2 separate regions of the Homo sapiens genome follow, and region 2 is linked to region 1. The links are contacts of gene promoters, found by promoter capture Hi-C in human tissues and cell types (Jung and others, 2019). All regions are on one chromosome and are shown on one strand. Each heading gives the region's core, a stretch centred on a gene start or on the middle of the fragment in contact. The rest is flanking DNA. Distances are from core to core; before and after follow the strand shown.

Evidence for each region. Contacts are between HindIII fragments. The study calls those that stand out against the background at their distance.
Region 2: the fragment with the promoter of XKR8 here is called in contact with a fragment that was not itself captured in region 1 in 1 of the 25 tissues and cell types used here (dorsolateral prefrontal cortex).

The regions. Positions count from the first base shown.
Region 1 is chr1:28,250,594-28,257,727 of GRCh38, forward strand. No RefSeq gene overlaps it. Among named protein-coding and RNA genes, the nearest start is that of SESN2, 5.4 kb to the right of the region's middle. RefSeq lists an enhancer at 1-521. The HindIII fragment of the contact is 5,032 bases long and covers 1,320-6,351 here.
Region 2 is chr1:27,955,970-27,963,283 of GRCh38, forward strand. It overlaps XKR8 (XK related 8), which reads left to right and starts at 4,004. Exons shown (of 3, transcript NM_018053.4): 1 at 4,004-4,393. The coding sequence starts at 4,101. SMPDL3B (sphingomyelin phosphodiesterase acid like 3B) reads left to right here. Exons shown (of 8, transcript NM_014474.4): 7 at 1-113; 8 at 2,507-3,183. The coding sequence ends at 2,869. RefSeq lists a silencer at 3,875-4,264 and an enhancer at 3,945-4,508. The HindIII fragment of the contact is 22,893 bases long and covers 635-7,314 here.

The DNA.
Region 1 (7,134 bases), core at 2,586-5,085:
TTGAGGCTGCAGTAAACAGTGATTGTGCTACTGTACTCCAGCCTGGGAGACAGACTGAGACCCTGTGTTAAAAAAAAAAAAAAAAAAAGGCCGGCGCGGTGGCTCACACCTGTAATCCCAGCACTTTGGGAGGCTGAGGCGAGTGGATTACCTGAGGTCAGGAGTTCAAGACCAGCCTGGCCAACATGGTGAAACCCCGTCTCCACTAAAAATACAAAAATCAGCTGGGCGTGGTGGCATGTGCCTGTAGTCCCAGCTACTCAGGAGGCTGAGATAGGAGAATTGCTTGAATCCAGGAAGCAGTGGTTACAGTGAGCCAAGATTGCGCCACTGCACTCCAGCCTGGGCGACAGAGCAAGACTCTGTCTCAAAAAAAAAAAAAAAAGAATTTTGGGTCAGGTTCAGTGGCTCACACCTGTAATCCCAGCACTTTAGGAAGTTGAGACTGGGAATTTGAGACCAGCCTGGTTAACATACTGAGACCCGTCTCTGCAAAAAATAAAAAGAAATTGGCCGGACAGCATAGTGCACACCTGTAGTCCTAGCTACTTGGGAGGATAGTTTGAGCCCAAGAGTTTGAGGTTACAGTCAGCTATAATCACATCACTGCACTCCAGCCTGGGTGACAGAGTGAGTAGAGGGAGACTGTCTCAAAAAAGAAAAAAAAAATTCTAAGAATTTTTTGCTTTTTCTTCTCACAAAGTTACTATGTAAATGAAGCTTTGGGAATGATTTAGTGACTGCCTTAAAGATTCTAAGGAGTTATTCAACAGAGGAGAGTAACTCATACACATTCATTCAAAAATATTCACTAAGGACTCACTACAGGCATATCTTGTTTTTTTGTCTTTTTGTTTTGAGACGGAGTCTTGCTCTGTCGCCAGGCTGGAGTGCAGTGGCGCAATCTTGGCTCACTGCAACCTCAGACTCCCTGGTTCAAGGGATTCTCCTGCCTCAGCCTTCTGAGTAGCTGGGATTACAGGGATACGCCACCACGCCCAGCTAATTTTTTTTTTTGTATTTTTAGTAGAGACGGGGTTCACCATGTTGGCCAGGATGGTCTTGATCTCGACCTCGTGAACCACCCGTCTCGGCCGGCCTCACAAAGTCCCGGGATTACAGGCGTGAGCCACCGTGCCCGGCCGGCATATCTTGTTTTATTGTGCTGCACTTTACTGTGCTTTGTAGATAATGCATTTTTTTGTTTTTTTGTTTTTTTGAGACAGAGTCTTGCTCTGTCGCCCAGACTGGAATGCATTGCTCAAGCAATCAATCAAGCCCGACCCACTTTATTTATTTATTTATTTATTTTAGACAGAGTTTCGCTGTGTCACTCAGGCTGGAGTGCCTTGCTCAAGCAATCCTCCTGCCTCAGCTTTCCAAGTAGCTGGGATTACAGGCATGCACCACCAAGCCCAGCTAATTTTCTATTTTTTTTTTTTTTGAGTTGGAGTCTCACTCTGTCCCCCAGGGTGGAGTGCGATGGCGCGATCTTTGGCTCACTGCAACCTCTGCCTCCCGGGTTCAAGCAATTCTCCTGCCTCAGCCTCCCTGAGTAGCGGGGATTACAGGTGCCCACCACCACGCCGAGCTAATTTTTGTATTTTCAGTAGAGACGGGGTTTCATCATATTGGCCAGGCTGGTCTCTTGGCCAGGCTGGTCTTGAACTCCTGTCTTCATGATCCACCCGCCTCAGCCTCCCAAAGTGCTGGGATTACAAGCGTGAGCCACTGCGCCCAGCCAATTTTCTTATTTTTTGTAGAGACAGAGTCTCGCTATGTTGCCCAGGCTGGTCTCAAACTCCTGGGCTCAAGCGGTTCTCTTGCCATGGCCCCCCAAAGTGCTGGGATTGTAGGCATGAGCCGCTAAGCCCAGCTGCATGTCTTTCATTTTAAATCAAAAGCTAGAAATCATTAAGCTTAGTGAAGAACATGTGCCAAAAGCCAAGATAGGCCAAAAGCTAGGTCTCTTGAGCCAAATAGCCAAGTTGTGAATGCAAAGGAAACATTCTTTTTTTTTTTTTTTGAGACAGTCTTGCTCTGTCTCCCAGGCTGGAGTGCAGTGGCCTGATCTCGGCTCACTACAACCTCCACCTCCCAGGTTCAAGCGATTCTCCTGCCTCAGCCTCCCGAGTAGCTGGGACTACAGGTGTCCACCACCATGCCTGGCTAATTTTTGTATTTTTAGGAGAGACGGGGTGTCACCATATTGGCCAGGCTGGTCTCGAACTCCTGACCTTGTGATCCGCCCACCTCGGCCTCCCAAAGTGCTAGGATTACAGGTGTGAGCCACCACGCCCGGCCAGGAAACATTCTTTTTTTTTTTTTTTTTTTTGAGACGGAGTCTCGCTCTGTCGCCCAGGCCGGACTGCGGACTGCAGTGGCGCAATCTCGGCTCACTGCAAGCTCCACTTCCCGGGTTCACGCCATTCTCCTGCCTCAGCCTCCCGAGTAGCTGGGACTACAGGCGCCCGCCACCGCGCCCGGCTAATTTTTTGTATTTTTAGTAGAGACGGGGTTTCACCTTGTTAGCCAGGATGGTCTCGATCTCCTGACCTCATGATCCACCCGCCTCGGCCTCCCAAAGTGCTGGGATTACAGGCGTGAGCCACTGCGCCCGGCCGAAACATTCTTAAAGAAAAATTTTAAATGCTACTCCAATAAATACATGAATGATAAGAAAGCAAACAGCCTTATTGCTGATAGGAAGAAAGTTTGAGTGGTCTCAGACTTTGATAGAAGATCAAACCGTCCACAATATTCCCTTAATCCAAAACCTAATCCAGAGCAAGGCCCTAACTCTCTTCAATTCTAGGAAAGCTGAGAGACGTGAGGAAGCTGCTGTAGAAAAGCTTAAACCTAGCATAGTTTGCTTCATGAGGTTGAAAGAAAGAAGCCTTCTCAATAACAGAAAAATACAAGGTGAAGCAGCCCATGCTGATGGAGAAGCTGCTGCAGTGAGTTATCCAGAAGATCTAGCTAAGATAACTGATGAAGGTAGATACACTAAACAACAGATTTTTCCATGTAGACAAACAGCCTTGTAATGGAAGAAGATGCCATCTAAGACTTTCATAGCTAAAGAGAAGCCAGGTTGGGAGCAGTGGCTCATGCCTGTAATCCCAGGACTTTGGGAGGCTGAGGCGGGCAGATCACGAGGTCAAGAGATTGAGACCATCCTGGCCAACATAGTGAAACCCCATCTCTACTAAAAATACAAAAAATTAGCTGAGCGTGTGGCATGTGCCTGTAGTCCCATCTACTAGGGAGGGTGAGGCAGGAGAATCACTTGAACCCAGGAGGTGGAGGTTGCAGTGAGCCGAGATTGTGCCACTGCACTCCAGCCTGGGTGACAGAGGGAAACTCCATCTCAAAAAAAAAAAAAAAGAGACAGAAGCCAATACCTGGTTTCCAAGTTTCAAAGCACAGGTTGACTCTCTTGTTAGGGGCTAATGCAGCTGGTGACTATAAGTTTAAGCCAGTGCTCATTGACTATTCTGAAAATCCTAGGGCCTTTAAGAATTATGCTAAATTTACTCTACCTGTGCTCTATAAATGGAACAGGCCGGGAGTGGTGGCTCATGCCTGTAATCCCAGCACTTTGGGAGGCCGATGCAGTGGATCACTTGAGGTCAGGAGTTCAAGACCAGCCTGGCCAACATGGCGAAACCCCGTCTCTACTAAAAATACAAAAATTAGCCAGGCGTGGTGGTGCGCACCTATAATCCCAGCTACATGGGGGGCTGAGGCAGGAGAATCGCTTGAACCTGGGAGGCAGAGGCTACAGTGAGCCAAGATCATGCCATTACACTCCAGCTTGGGCAACAGAGTGAGACTCCGCCTCAAAAAACAAACAAAAAATGTGATCCATAGAAGGAGGCAAAAAAATCAACATAAACAGGAGTTTGAAAGAAGCTCATTTCACTCTCATGGATGACTTTGAGGTGGTTCAAGACTTCAATGTAGGAAGTAACTGTAGGTGTGTTCGAAATAGCAAGAGAACAGCCTGTCCAACATAGCGAAACCCCATCTCTACTAAAAATATAAAAATTAGCCAGGCATGGTGGCACATCCCTGTAATCCCAGCTACTTGGGAGGCTAAGGCAGGAGAATCACTTGTACCCGGGAGGCAGGGGTTGCAGTGAGCCGAGATCTCACCACTGCACTCCAGCCTGGGCGTCAGAGCAAGACTCTGTCTTCAAAAAGAAAAAAAGAAATAACAAGAGAAGTAGAATTAGAAATAAAGCCTGAATATGTGACTGAATTGTTGCAATCTCAGGATAAAACTCGAATGGATGAGGAGTTGCTTCTTCTTTTTATTCTTTTTTTCTTTATTCTTTTGTTTTGTTTTGTTTTGTTTGAGATGGAGTTTCGCTCTTGTTTCCCAGGCTGGAGTGCAGTAGCGCAATCTCAGCTCACTGCAACGTCCACCTCTTGGGTTCAAGCGATTCTCCTGCCTCAACCTCCCAAGTAGCTGGGATTACAGGCACCCACCACCATGCCTGGCTAATTTTTTGCATTTTAGGTAGAGATGGGGTTTCACCATCTTGGCCAGGCTGGTCTTGAACTTCTGTCCTCGTGATCCATCCACCTCAGCCTCCCAAAGAGCTGGGATTACAGGCGTGAGCCACTGCGCCTGGCCAATTTTTGTATTTTTAGTAGAGACGGGGTTTCCCCATGTTGGCCCAGGCTGACTTTTCTTTTTTTGTTTCTTTAAGGAGTTGCTTCTTATGGCTGAGCAAAGAAAGTGGTTTCTTGAGATGGAATCTACTCCTGTGAAGATGCTATGATCATTGTTGAAATGACAACAAAGGATTTAGAATATTACATAAGCTTAGTTGACAAAGCAGCAGCAGGGTTTGAGAAGATTGACTCCAATTTTGAAAGAAGTTCTGCTGTAGGTAACATGTTACCAAACAGTATCACATGCTACAGAGAAATCTTTCATGGAAGGAAGAGTGGATCCTTGTGGCCAACTTTATTATTGTCTTATTTTAAGAAATTGGCACAGCCGGCTGGGCACCGTGGCTCACACCTATAATCCCAGCACTTTGGGAGGCTGAGGCTGGTGGATCACCTGAGGTCGGGAGTCCAAGACCAGCCTAACAAACATGGAGAAACCCCATCTCTACTAAAAATAAAAAATTAGCCGGGCGTGGTGGTGCTACTCGGGAGGCAGAGGCAGGAGAATTGCTTGCACCTAGGAGACGGAGGTTGCCGTGAGCCGAAATCACACCATTGCACTCCAACCTGGGCAACAAGAAGGACACTTCGTCTCACAAAAAACAAACAAACAAAAAAAAAGTGCTCTAACACAGCCTTGTGCAGTCAAAAGAAGATACTGTGTGACCCTGATAAGCAATTTTTGTTTTTATTTTTATTTTTATTTTTGATTCAGTGGCACAATCTGCAACCTCCATCTCCCAGGTTCAAGCTATTCCCTTGCCTCAGCCTGCCGAGTAGCTGGGATTACAGGCTCTCGCACCACACCCGGCTAATTTTTATGTTTTTGGTAGAGATGGGATTTTACCATGTTGGCCAGCCTCCCAAGTACATGAGATTATAGGTACATGCCACCACACCCTGCTGATTTTTGTAGTTTTTGTGAATACAGGGTTTCTCCATGTTGACCAGGCTGGTCTCGAACTCTTGGGCTCAAGGGATCCTCCCTTTTGGCCTCCCCAGATGCTGGGATTACAGATGTTAGCCACCAAGCCTGGCCAATTTTACCTTTCTGAGCTCAAGTTTTCTCACTTTGTACACGTGGTCAATGAGAGATTTTTATCATCAGTTGGAGGGAAGTGGTGAGATATATACACATGATATCAAGCATACACCAAGTTTGGAGATCAGTGGTAGAAAGAGATAAAAAGAATGTGTTGAAGATGTTGAGGACTGGGTGAGATTACTTTCAGCTGAGCTTTTTGGAGGAGGTGTCATTTAAAGTCTTGCTTCAGGCCACAAACAGGAATGAAGGCATTGAATGATGGATACTATTTCAATGGGTAGAGATTTGCAAGAAGAGTACTGAAAGAAAGATTTGAAGGCCAAACAAGAAACATGGATGTTGCAGGTGGTAAGAATGGGAGGGTAAATTAGGTGCATCTTGGCAAACCTTGAATGTTAAGATAGGAGTTTGATTTTTTTTTTTTTTTTTTTTGAGACAGGGTTTCGCTCTGACACCCAGATCGTGCAGTGGCACGATCTCAGCTCACTGCAACCTCTGCCTCCCGGGTTCAAGCGATTCTCCTGCCTCAGCTTTTCGAGTAGTTGGGACTACAGGCGTGCACCACCACGCTTGGCTAATTTTTGTATATTTAGTAGAGATGGGGTTTCACGATGTTGGCCAGGATGATCTTGAACTCCTGACCTCAGGTGATCTGCCTGCCTTTGCCTCCCAAAGTGCTGGGATCACAGGCGTGAGCCACCATGCCCACCCAAGGAGTTTGATCTTAATTCTGTAGCTGATGAAATACCAGTGAAGCCTTTTGATCTGGACTTTGACATTACATAGTAAATTTTTTTTTTTTTTTGAGACAGAATCTCACTCTGTCACCCAGGCTAGAGTGCAGTGGCACGATCTCGGCTCACTGCAAGCTCTGCCTCCTGGGTTCACGCCATTCTCCTGCCTCAGCCTCCCAAGTAGCTGGGACTACAGGCACCCGCCACCACGCCTGGCTAATTTTTTGTATTTTTAGTAGAGACGGGGTTTCACCATGTTAGCCAGGATGGTCTTGATCTGACCTCGTGATCCGCCCACCTCGGCCTCCCAAAGTGCTGGGATTACAGGCGTGAGCCACCACGCCTGGCCACATAGTAAATTTTTTAAATGAAAGCTGAAGCTGACACAGGGTAGTTTAGAGAGGAAGTTGATGCAAAGGAAGATTCCGTGACCAAGGGCATATGATTGTCAGGACATTTTGCTAGGTGACATAGAGCAGGAGATGGATGTCAAGATGTAGACCCTGCCAGCCAGGCGCGGTGGCTCATGCCTATAATGCCAGCACTTTGGGAGGCTGAGGCGGGCAGAGCACAAGGTCAGGAGTTCGAGACCAGCCTGATCAACATGGTGAAACCCTGTCTCCACTAAAAATACAAAAATTAGCCGGGTGTGGTGGCACTTGCCTGTAATCC
Region 2 (7,314 bases), core at 2,754-5,253, 290 kb before region 1:
TCATCACACCTGGAGTCACCCCATGGAAAACCACATTACCTGGAGTGGTCAATGGGGCCAACAATCCAGCCATCCGGGTGTTCGAATATGACCGAGCCACACTGAGCCTGAAGGTCAGGAGTCCTGCGGAGGCCAGAGGAGGAGGGTGGGAGGGGCTTAAATGCATCACCACCTTCCCTCACTCTCAGCTTATCCACCTTCCCCTGACCACTGAGCCTCAGGAAGGTTGAGCTCCTTCCACCCTTCTCCAGCTCAGGATCAGAACCCTGGAGGCACCTGCCACCGAGTCAGGGCAGTGCCTCACCAAGTCACCTTTTCCCCTGGATGACTGTCACAGCTTCATACCTGGTCTCCCTGCCTCTGGCCCTGCCCTGCTATGGCCCATCCGCTACACAAGAGAGAAGAAACTAATCTCCTATAGCACCACTTTCATCTTGTCTCCGTCCTGCTCAAAAACCTTCAGTGGCTCCCCAGTGCCTTCAAGATAAAGTTGTGTCTCCTTGACCTAGTACTCAAGGCTTCCCACAGTCTGACTTCAAGCCCATTGTCCACATTTTCCGTACACAGACGAGGCTCCAGCCCCTAATTCTTTGGGCAGTCCCTCACCTCGTAGGATGAGCTTGTGGTTGTTGAGATGAAAAATATTATTCCTTTATTTATCCAACAAAATGCATTAAGTGTGTGCCATTGGCCAGGCCCTGTTCTAATCTCAGAAGATATGTAAATTTAAAAACAAAGTCACCCCTCTCCTGGACCTGACATCTTACAGGAGAGGGACAATAAATATGTAGAATTAATTATAGTACTGAGAGAAGGGCTAAGGAGAAAATCAAAACAGTGAGGCGACAGGGTGACAGCTATGGGAGGTGTGTACTGTGTTAGATAGGTGGGAAGGGGAAGTGTCCACATAAGGTGCCATTTGAGTTCTGAGTGTATTGAGGGAGGGAGCCCAGTGGGTATCTTGGGGAGGTGGAGGGAACAGCAAGTCAAAGGCCCCGGGGTGGGAATGTGCGTGGTAGGTTAGGGGAAGAGCACGGAGGCCATGTGGCCACAGTAAGAGGCACAAGGGGAGAGTGGGAGGGGAGGTCCGATCTTGCAGGCCTCCATGAGGACTCTGGATTTGGAGGGTTTTGCGCAGAAGAATGAAATCCTGTGACTTATAATTTTATGGAATCATCATGTCTGCTGTGCAGGGAACAGGCTGTAGGGGCAGGTGGGGGAGCAGTGAGGCCGTTTGGAGGGAAGGACAAATCCCAGATGACAGGATAGTAGCTTGCCCAGGGTGGAGGCAGTGAGATGGTGAAAAGTGCCAGGTCCCAGATGAATTCTGGATGCAGGATTTGCTAGAGTGGATATGAGCTGTGAGAAAAAGGGACGAATCCAGGAGGCTTCCAAGGCTCTTGGCCTGTGCAACGGTAGGCTGTGGCTGCCGATTACTGAGATAAGTGGCAGGGTGATCAGGCTTCGGAGGGTCAGTCAGAGGTCTTGTTTTGGACCTGTTACCTTTGGGAGGGCTAAATGGCATCAAGTGAAAGTGGACAGGGAAGGGGCAAGTTGGAGCTTGAAGAGGTGAGGATAGAGATGTGATCTGGGAGTGGAGAGAGGACATTTAAAGCCAACGACTGCATGAGCTAACCCAGGTCCTTGATTCTAGTAAAGGTAGATTAAGAAGAGGTCTGAGGGGTTTAAAGAGTGGCCTGTTGTCCACATGGGCACTCCAAGGGTCTGAGCAAGGGGAATGGCAGGCTGCACCATCACCCCCTAACAGGCCCTCCATTCTCCTCAGGGAGGGAGTCAGCCCTGAGCTTGAATCCTGGCTCCACCACTCATAAGCTTTTTGATCTTTTGACCTCTGTGCCTCACTTGCTTCATCTGTAAAATGGGAGTAACAGAACCTCGCAGGGTTTGAGGAGGACTACATGAAATAATGGAATGTTCCTGGCACAGAGTGGCCATGCATACGGGCAGCTCCTCTTACCCCGTCTGCAGTGGCCTGAAGCAGGTTCATAAATGTACCTGGAACCCGCTGGACTGATGAACCCTGCAGAGTCTAGCCGTGAACATGCACCTGGGTCCTAGGAGTCTACAGTTCATAATCTCTCTCATGCTTAGTGTTGCTCTTTTTATGTTGCTTTTATCTATTCATTATGTAAATATTTACTGAGCGTCTTCTATGTGTACCCTAGCATGGTGGGACCTGGGGTAAACCTGGGGTCCAATCCTGCTACCACTGAATACCTGTATGAATACCTGTATGACCCTGGCCAAGTGAATTAACCTCTTTAGGCCTCAGTTTCCTCATTTGTGAAACCTAGGTAATAAGCGCAGTTACCTCATTCGATTCAGAGGATGTCTGCCAAGCACAATGGGTGCACAGCTAAGTGCTCAATAACTACTAGTGGTCATGGTCACTGCTCTAAAGAACTTGGGGGCAAATGCAAGGTGCAGGATGGGGATGGAAGCAGACAACTGCTCACAGCCGGTCTACCCCAAACCCTTTTTCCAGGACATGGTGACCTACTTCATGAACCTGAGCCAGGCGAATGCTCAGGGGACGCCGCGCTGGGAGCTCGAGTACCAGCTGACCGAGGCCTATGGGGTGCCGGACGCCAGCGCCCACTCCATGCACACAGTGCTGGACCGCATCGCTGGCGACCAGAGCACACTGCAGCGCTACTACGTCTATAACTCAGTCAGCTACTCTGCTGGGGTCTGCGACGAGGCCTGCAGCATGCAGCACGTGTGTGCCATGCGCCAGGTGGACATTGACGCTTACACCACCTGTCTGTATGCCTCTGGCACCACGCCCGTGCCCCAGCTCCCGCTGCTGCTGATGGCCCTGCTGGGCCTGTGCACGCTCGTGCTGTGACCTGCCAGGCTCACCTTCTTCCTGGTAACGGGTAACGGGGGCAGCGCCCAGGATCACCCAGAGCTGGGCCTTCCACCATTTCCTCCGCGCCTGAGGAGTGAACTGAAATAGGACAACCGAATCAGGAAGCGAAGCCCCAGGAGCTGCAGCCATCCGTGATCGCGCCACTGCACTCCAGCCTGGGTGACAAAGCCAGACTCTCTCCAAAAACAAACCAGAAACAGAAAAGAAATGACGACCCAAGACCCCCCTACAAGCATACTTCTTTTGCGTATTATGTTTAACTCACAAAACAAAGCTCATCATGCGTTTGATTCTGTGTTGTGTTCCTTTTCTTTTCTTTTGAGACGGAGTCTCGCTCTGTCGCCCAGGCCGGAGTGCAGTGGCGCTATCTCGGCTCTCTGCAACCTCTGCCTCCCGGGTTCAAGCGATTCTCCTGCCTCAGCCTCCTAGCTGGGACTACAGGCGCGCGCCAACACGCCCGACTAATTTGTATTTTTAGTAGAGACGGGGTTTCGCCATGTTTGCCAGGCTGGTCTCGAACTCCTGACCTCAGGTGATCCGCCCGCCTGGGCCTCCCAAAGTGTTGGGATTACAGGCGTGAGTCACCGCGCCCGGCCTCTATTCCCTTCCGTATGGAAATGAGGTTAACTCATTTGCAGGAACCTAACGCCCGCCCTCCCCCGACTCGGATCGCTGGCGTGAACCCAGCGGCCCCGTGCTCTCCGGGTATCCCTGGATCGAGGCGCACGCGTTGTTGCAAAGTCTCGCACTTAGGGATTAGAATGTGCCTTTGCGTTTCGTTTTGTTTTGCAACAATACAGGTGTGAGGGATCGCAGCCCTGGTCCAGGCTCTAGTCTCCCCGCCCTCTCGCTTTCTTGGGCCTCCGGGCGCCTCAAAGGTAAAACTAGGCCATTTGAAGCCTGCGAAGCGAAGGGCAGTCGGTCTTCAGGCCTAGCGGGCTTGGCTGGGCTGGGTCGGTGGACCCCTGGGCTGGCGGCGGGAGCAGAGCATCGAGCGGCTTTTAGCTGGGGTTCGGGCGGAGGACCTGGGACAACCGCGGGCCTCGCTCCTCCCCGGACGGGGCGGGACGGGGAAGTCCCGCCCACCAGGCCCAGGCCCCGGGCCGCCCCGAGGGCTGCGCCCACCTCCTTCCTGCCTCGGCAACCCCGGGCCCTGAGGGCAGGCCCCAACCGCGGAGGAGCAGGAGAGGGCGGAGGCCGGCGGGCCATGCCCTGGTCGTCCCGCGGCGCCCTCCTTCGGGACCTGGTCCTGGGCGTGCTGGGCACCGCCGCCTTCCTGCTCGACCTGGGCACCGACCTGTGGGCCGCCGTCCAGTATGCGCTCGGCGGCCGCTACCTGTGGGCGGCGCTGGTGCTGGCGCTGCTGGGCCTGGCCTCCGTGGCGCTGCAGCTCTTCAGCTGGCTCTGGCTGCGCGCTGACCCTGCCGGCCTGCACGGGTCGCAGCCCCCGCGCCGCTGCCTGGCGCTGCTGCATCTCCTGCAGCTGGGTTACCTGTACAGGTGAGTGCTTCGCCCCGGGAGGGGAGGAGTGTCGGAGCCCAGCACCTCCGTCAGCTGGGTCACCTGTACAGGTGACACGCCATATGCCGGGAAGGGGACTGGGAGAGGGAACCAAGTCCTGTGGGCGCCTGGCCTACAGGTGAGCGTGCAGCCCTTTACGGAAAGGGAATCCCGGTAGACTGCCTTCATTCTAGCCCTAGCTTTCCTGGCACAGGCGAAGAAACTGAGGCCCAGGGAAGAAAGGGAGGCGCATGGGCTTTGAAGTCGGACCTCTCAGGGATCCACTTCTGGCTTTGCCCCCTCTCGCCTCACTTCTGCATTTCTCTGAGCCTCAGTTTCCTCCTGCGTAGAAAGGAGGTAGTCACCCTGAGACAGGTGTGACGGGCAGGCCTGTTGTGAAGAGTGAGCGAAAGAATGAGAAAGTGCCTCGCACAGTGCCTGGCCTGTAATGGCAGGGGCTGCGGACTCAGTTCAGCATCCCATGTTTCAGCATGGGCAGGGCCTTGGGAAGTCACTGACCTCTCAGTGGGGCTGTTTGGTTGCTGTTCCCATTGGGATGGGGATAGCGCCTGCCCGTTTGGTGAAGATGCAGTGAAATGACATCTGTCCACTGCCCTGGCTCAGAGTGAGCACTCAGCAACCTCAGCTGGCTTCTTGACCTGGGCCTCCCTGGGAGTTTCAGCAGCCCTGACCCCACCACAGCGCTTGCCCCTCACAAAGGCCGCCTCTCACCCTGTCTGCCTGGTTGTATTCTTCCCCCTGAAACTTGGCTTCCCACCCCAGACCCAGCAAGAGGGCAGAGATGGCCTCTGACTCATCCATGCCCATGGAGCCAGCCAGGGCTGGGCATAGGCTGGGTCCTGGAAAATGTGTGTGGATTCTGCTCCTTTTTGGACCTGGTGGAGCCTCGTAGAGATGGGAAAACAAACCCAAGGCTCAGAGGCATGCGACAAAGTCAGGGCAGAGGGTGGTGTGGGTTGGGATGGGGTGGCCAGGGCCAGGATCTGCTCTTGAATCCGTTTTTACAAACTCTTGAGATCTGGCCTTGACAAAGCCACACGGAGTCTCCAGGAGTGGAAGAGAGGAGCTTTGAATGTGGCAGTTTTGCCTGAGGGATTATAGAGACATCAGAAAACCCCGGGTGGGCATGAAGGGGTGCAGTTGTTAAGTCCTGGGCAGGCCTCCATGAGCCGTGAATCTGTAACTACCTTATGCATCTTTGTGGCCAATATTTCTGCTGAGCTTGAGTCAGACAGACTGTACTAGCTTTGGCTTTGGAAATGGGTCTCTGTTCCTGCCTGTGAATTGGCCGAGGCAGGGGTCCCTGCTAGGTCACTGGGGACCATAGGCAAAGGCTCCTGCTGAGGGAGAACCCCAGCCTGTCCTGCCTGCCTGCTCCTCAGTGTGTTCTTGTGTCCTTCCAGGGGAAGTGACAGTACATGTCTGGTGAATGAGCTTGTGATGAGTGAACGGGGTTCTCTCCCAATAGGCAACTGAGAGCAAAGTTCTGGGTGGAGGGTCCTTGGTGCATCCTCCACTTACTCTTCATGCCAGTGGGTACCCCAGACCTGTCTGTCCAAACTCTGGACTCTCTTAACTCCGCCCCAATCTCCATCCTTAACCACTCAGGGCCAGCCTCTTAAATGGGATCCCTCCTTCCAATCTAACCCTCCTCCAGCCCCTCCCCTGTGTGGCCGGGGCAAGGCAGAGTCTGATTCCATCTGGCCTGTGCCCAGAAGTGCCCAAGAGGCAAATGTCCTCTTGCCCACAGGACCCCAGGAGATCTTGGGCACACTAAAGTTTGAGAACTACTGCCTCAGGCAACTTTATAGCATGCCTTTCCAATTCAGGTTTGGATCCAAATCCTCATTCCAGTACTTATTAGCTGCTTATAATTTTTTGTTTGTTTTTTAAAAAGAGGTAGGGTCTGGTCAGGCTTGGTGGCTCATGCCTGTAATCCTAGCAGTCTGGGAGGCTGACGTGGGTGGATCACTTGAGGTCAGGAGTTTGAGACCAGCCTGCTGAACATGGCAAAAGCTCATCTCTACAAAAATTAGCCAGGTGTGGTGGCGCATGCCTGTAATCCCAGCATCCCAGCTACTCTGGAGGCCGAGGCAGGAGAATCGCTTGAACCTGGGAGGTGGAGGTTGCAGTGAGCCGAGTTTGTGCCACTGCACTCTAGCCTGGGCGACAAGCGACAGATGTAGACTCTGTCTCCAAAAAAAAAGAAAAAAAAAAAGAGAGAGAGAGGCAGGGTCTCTGTTGCCTGGGCTGGAGTGCAGTGGCACAATCAATCATGGCTCACAGTGGCCTTGAACTCCTGGGCTCAAGCTGTCCTCCTGCGTCAGCCTCCTGAGTAGCTTGGACTACAGGCTTGTACCACCACGTCCAACTAATTAAAAAAAATTCTTTGTAGAGATGGGGCTTGCTGTGTTGCCCAGGGTGGTCTCAAACTCCTGGCCTCCAGTGATCCTCTTGCCTTGGCCTGTCAAAATGTTGGGATTACAGGCGCGAGCCACTGCACCCAGACCTTATTAGCTTCTTGATCCTGTTTCCCCATCTGTAAAATGGGCTTTTGTGAGAAGTAAACAGGACAAGGTTTGTGATGAGCTTGGGACAGTGCTTAGCCAGCGGGAGTAGAAGGTGTATTGATCCCCATTTTTGCTTTTTTGTTTTTTTTGAGACGGAGTCTTGTTCTGTCGCCAGGCTGGAGTGCAGTGGCACGATCTCGGCTCACTGTAACCTCCGCCTTGCAGATTCAAGAGATTCTCCTGCCTCAGCCTCCTGAGTAGCTGGGACTACAGGCGCGCACCACCACACCCAGCTAATTTTTTGTATTAGTAGAGACGAGGCTTCACCATGTTAGCCAGGATGGTCTCAATCTCCTGAACTCGTGATCAGCCCGCCTCAGACTCCCAAAG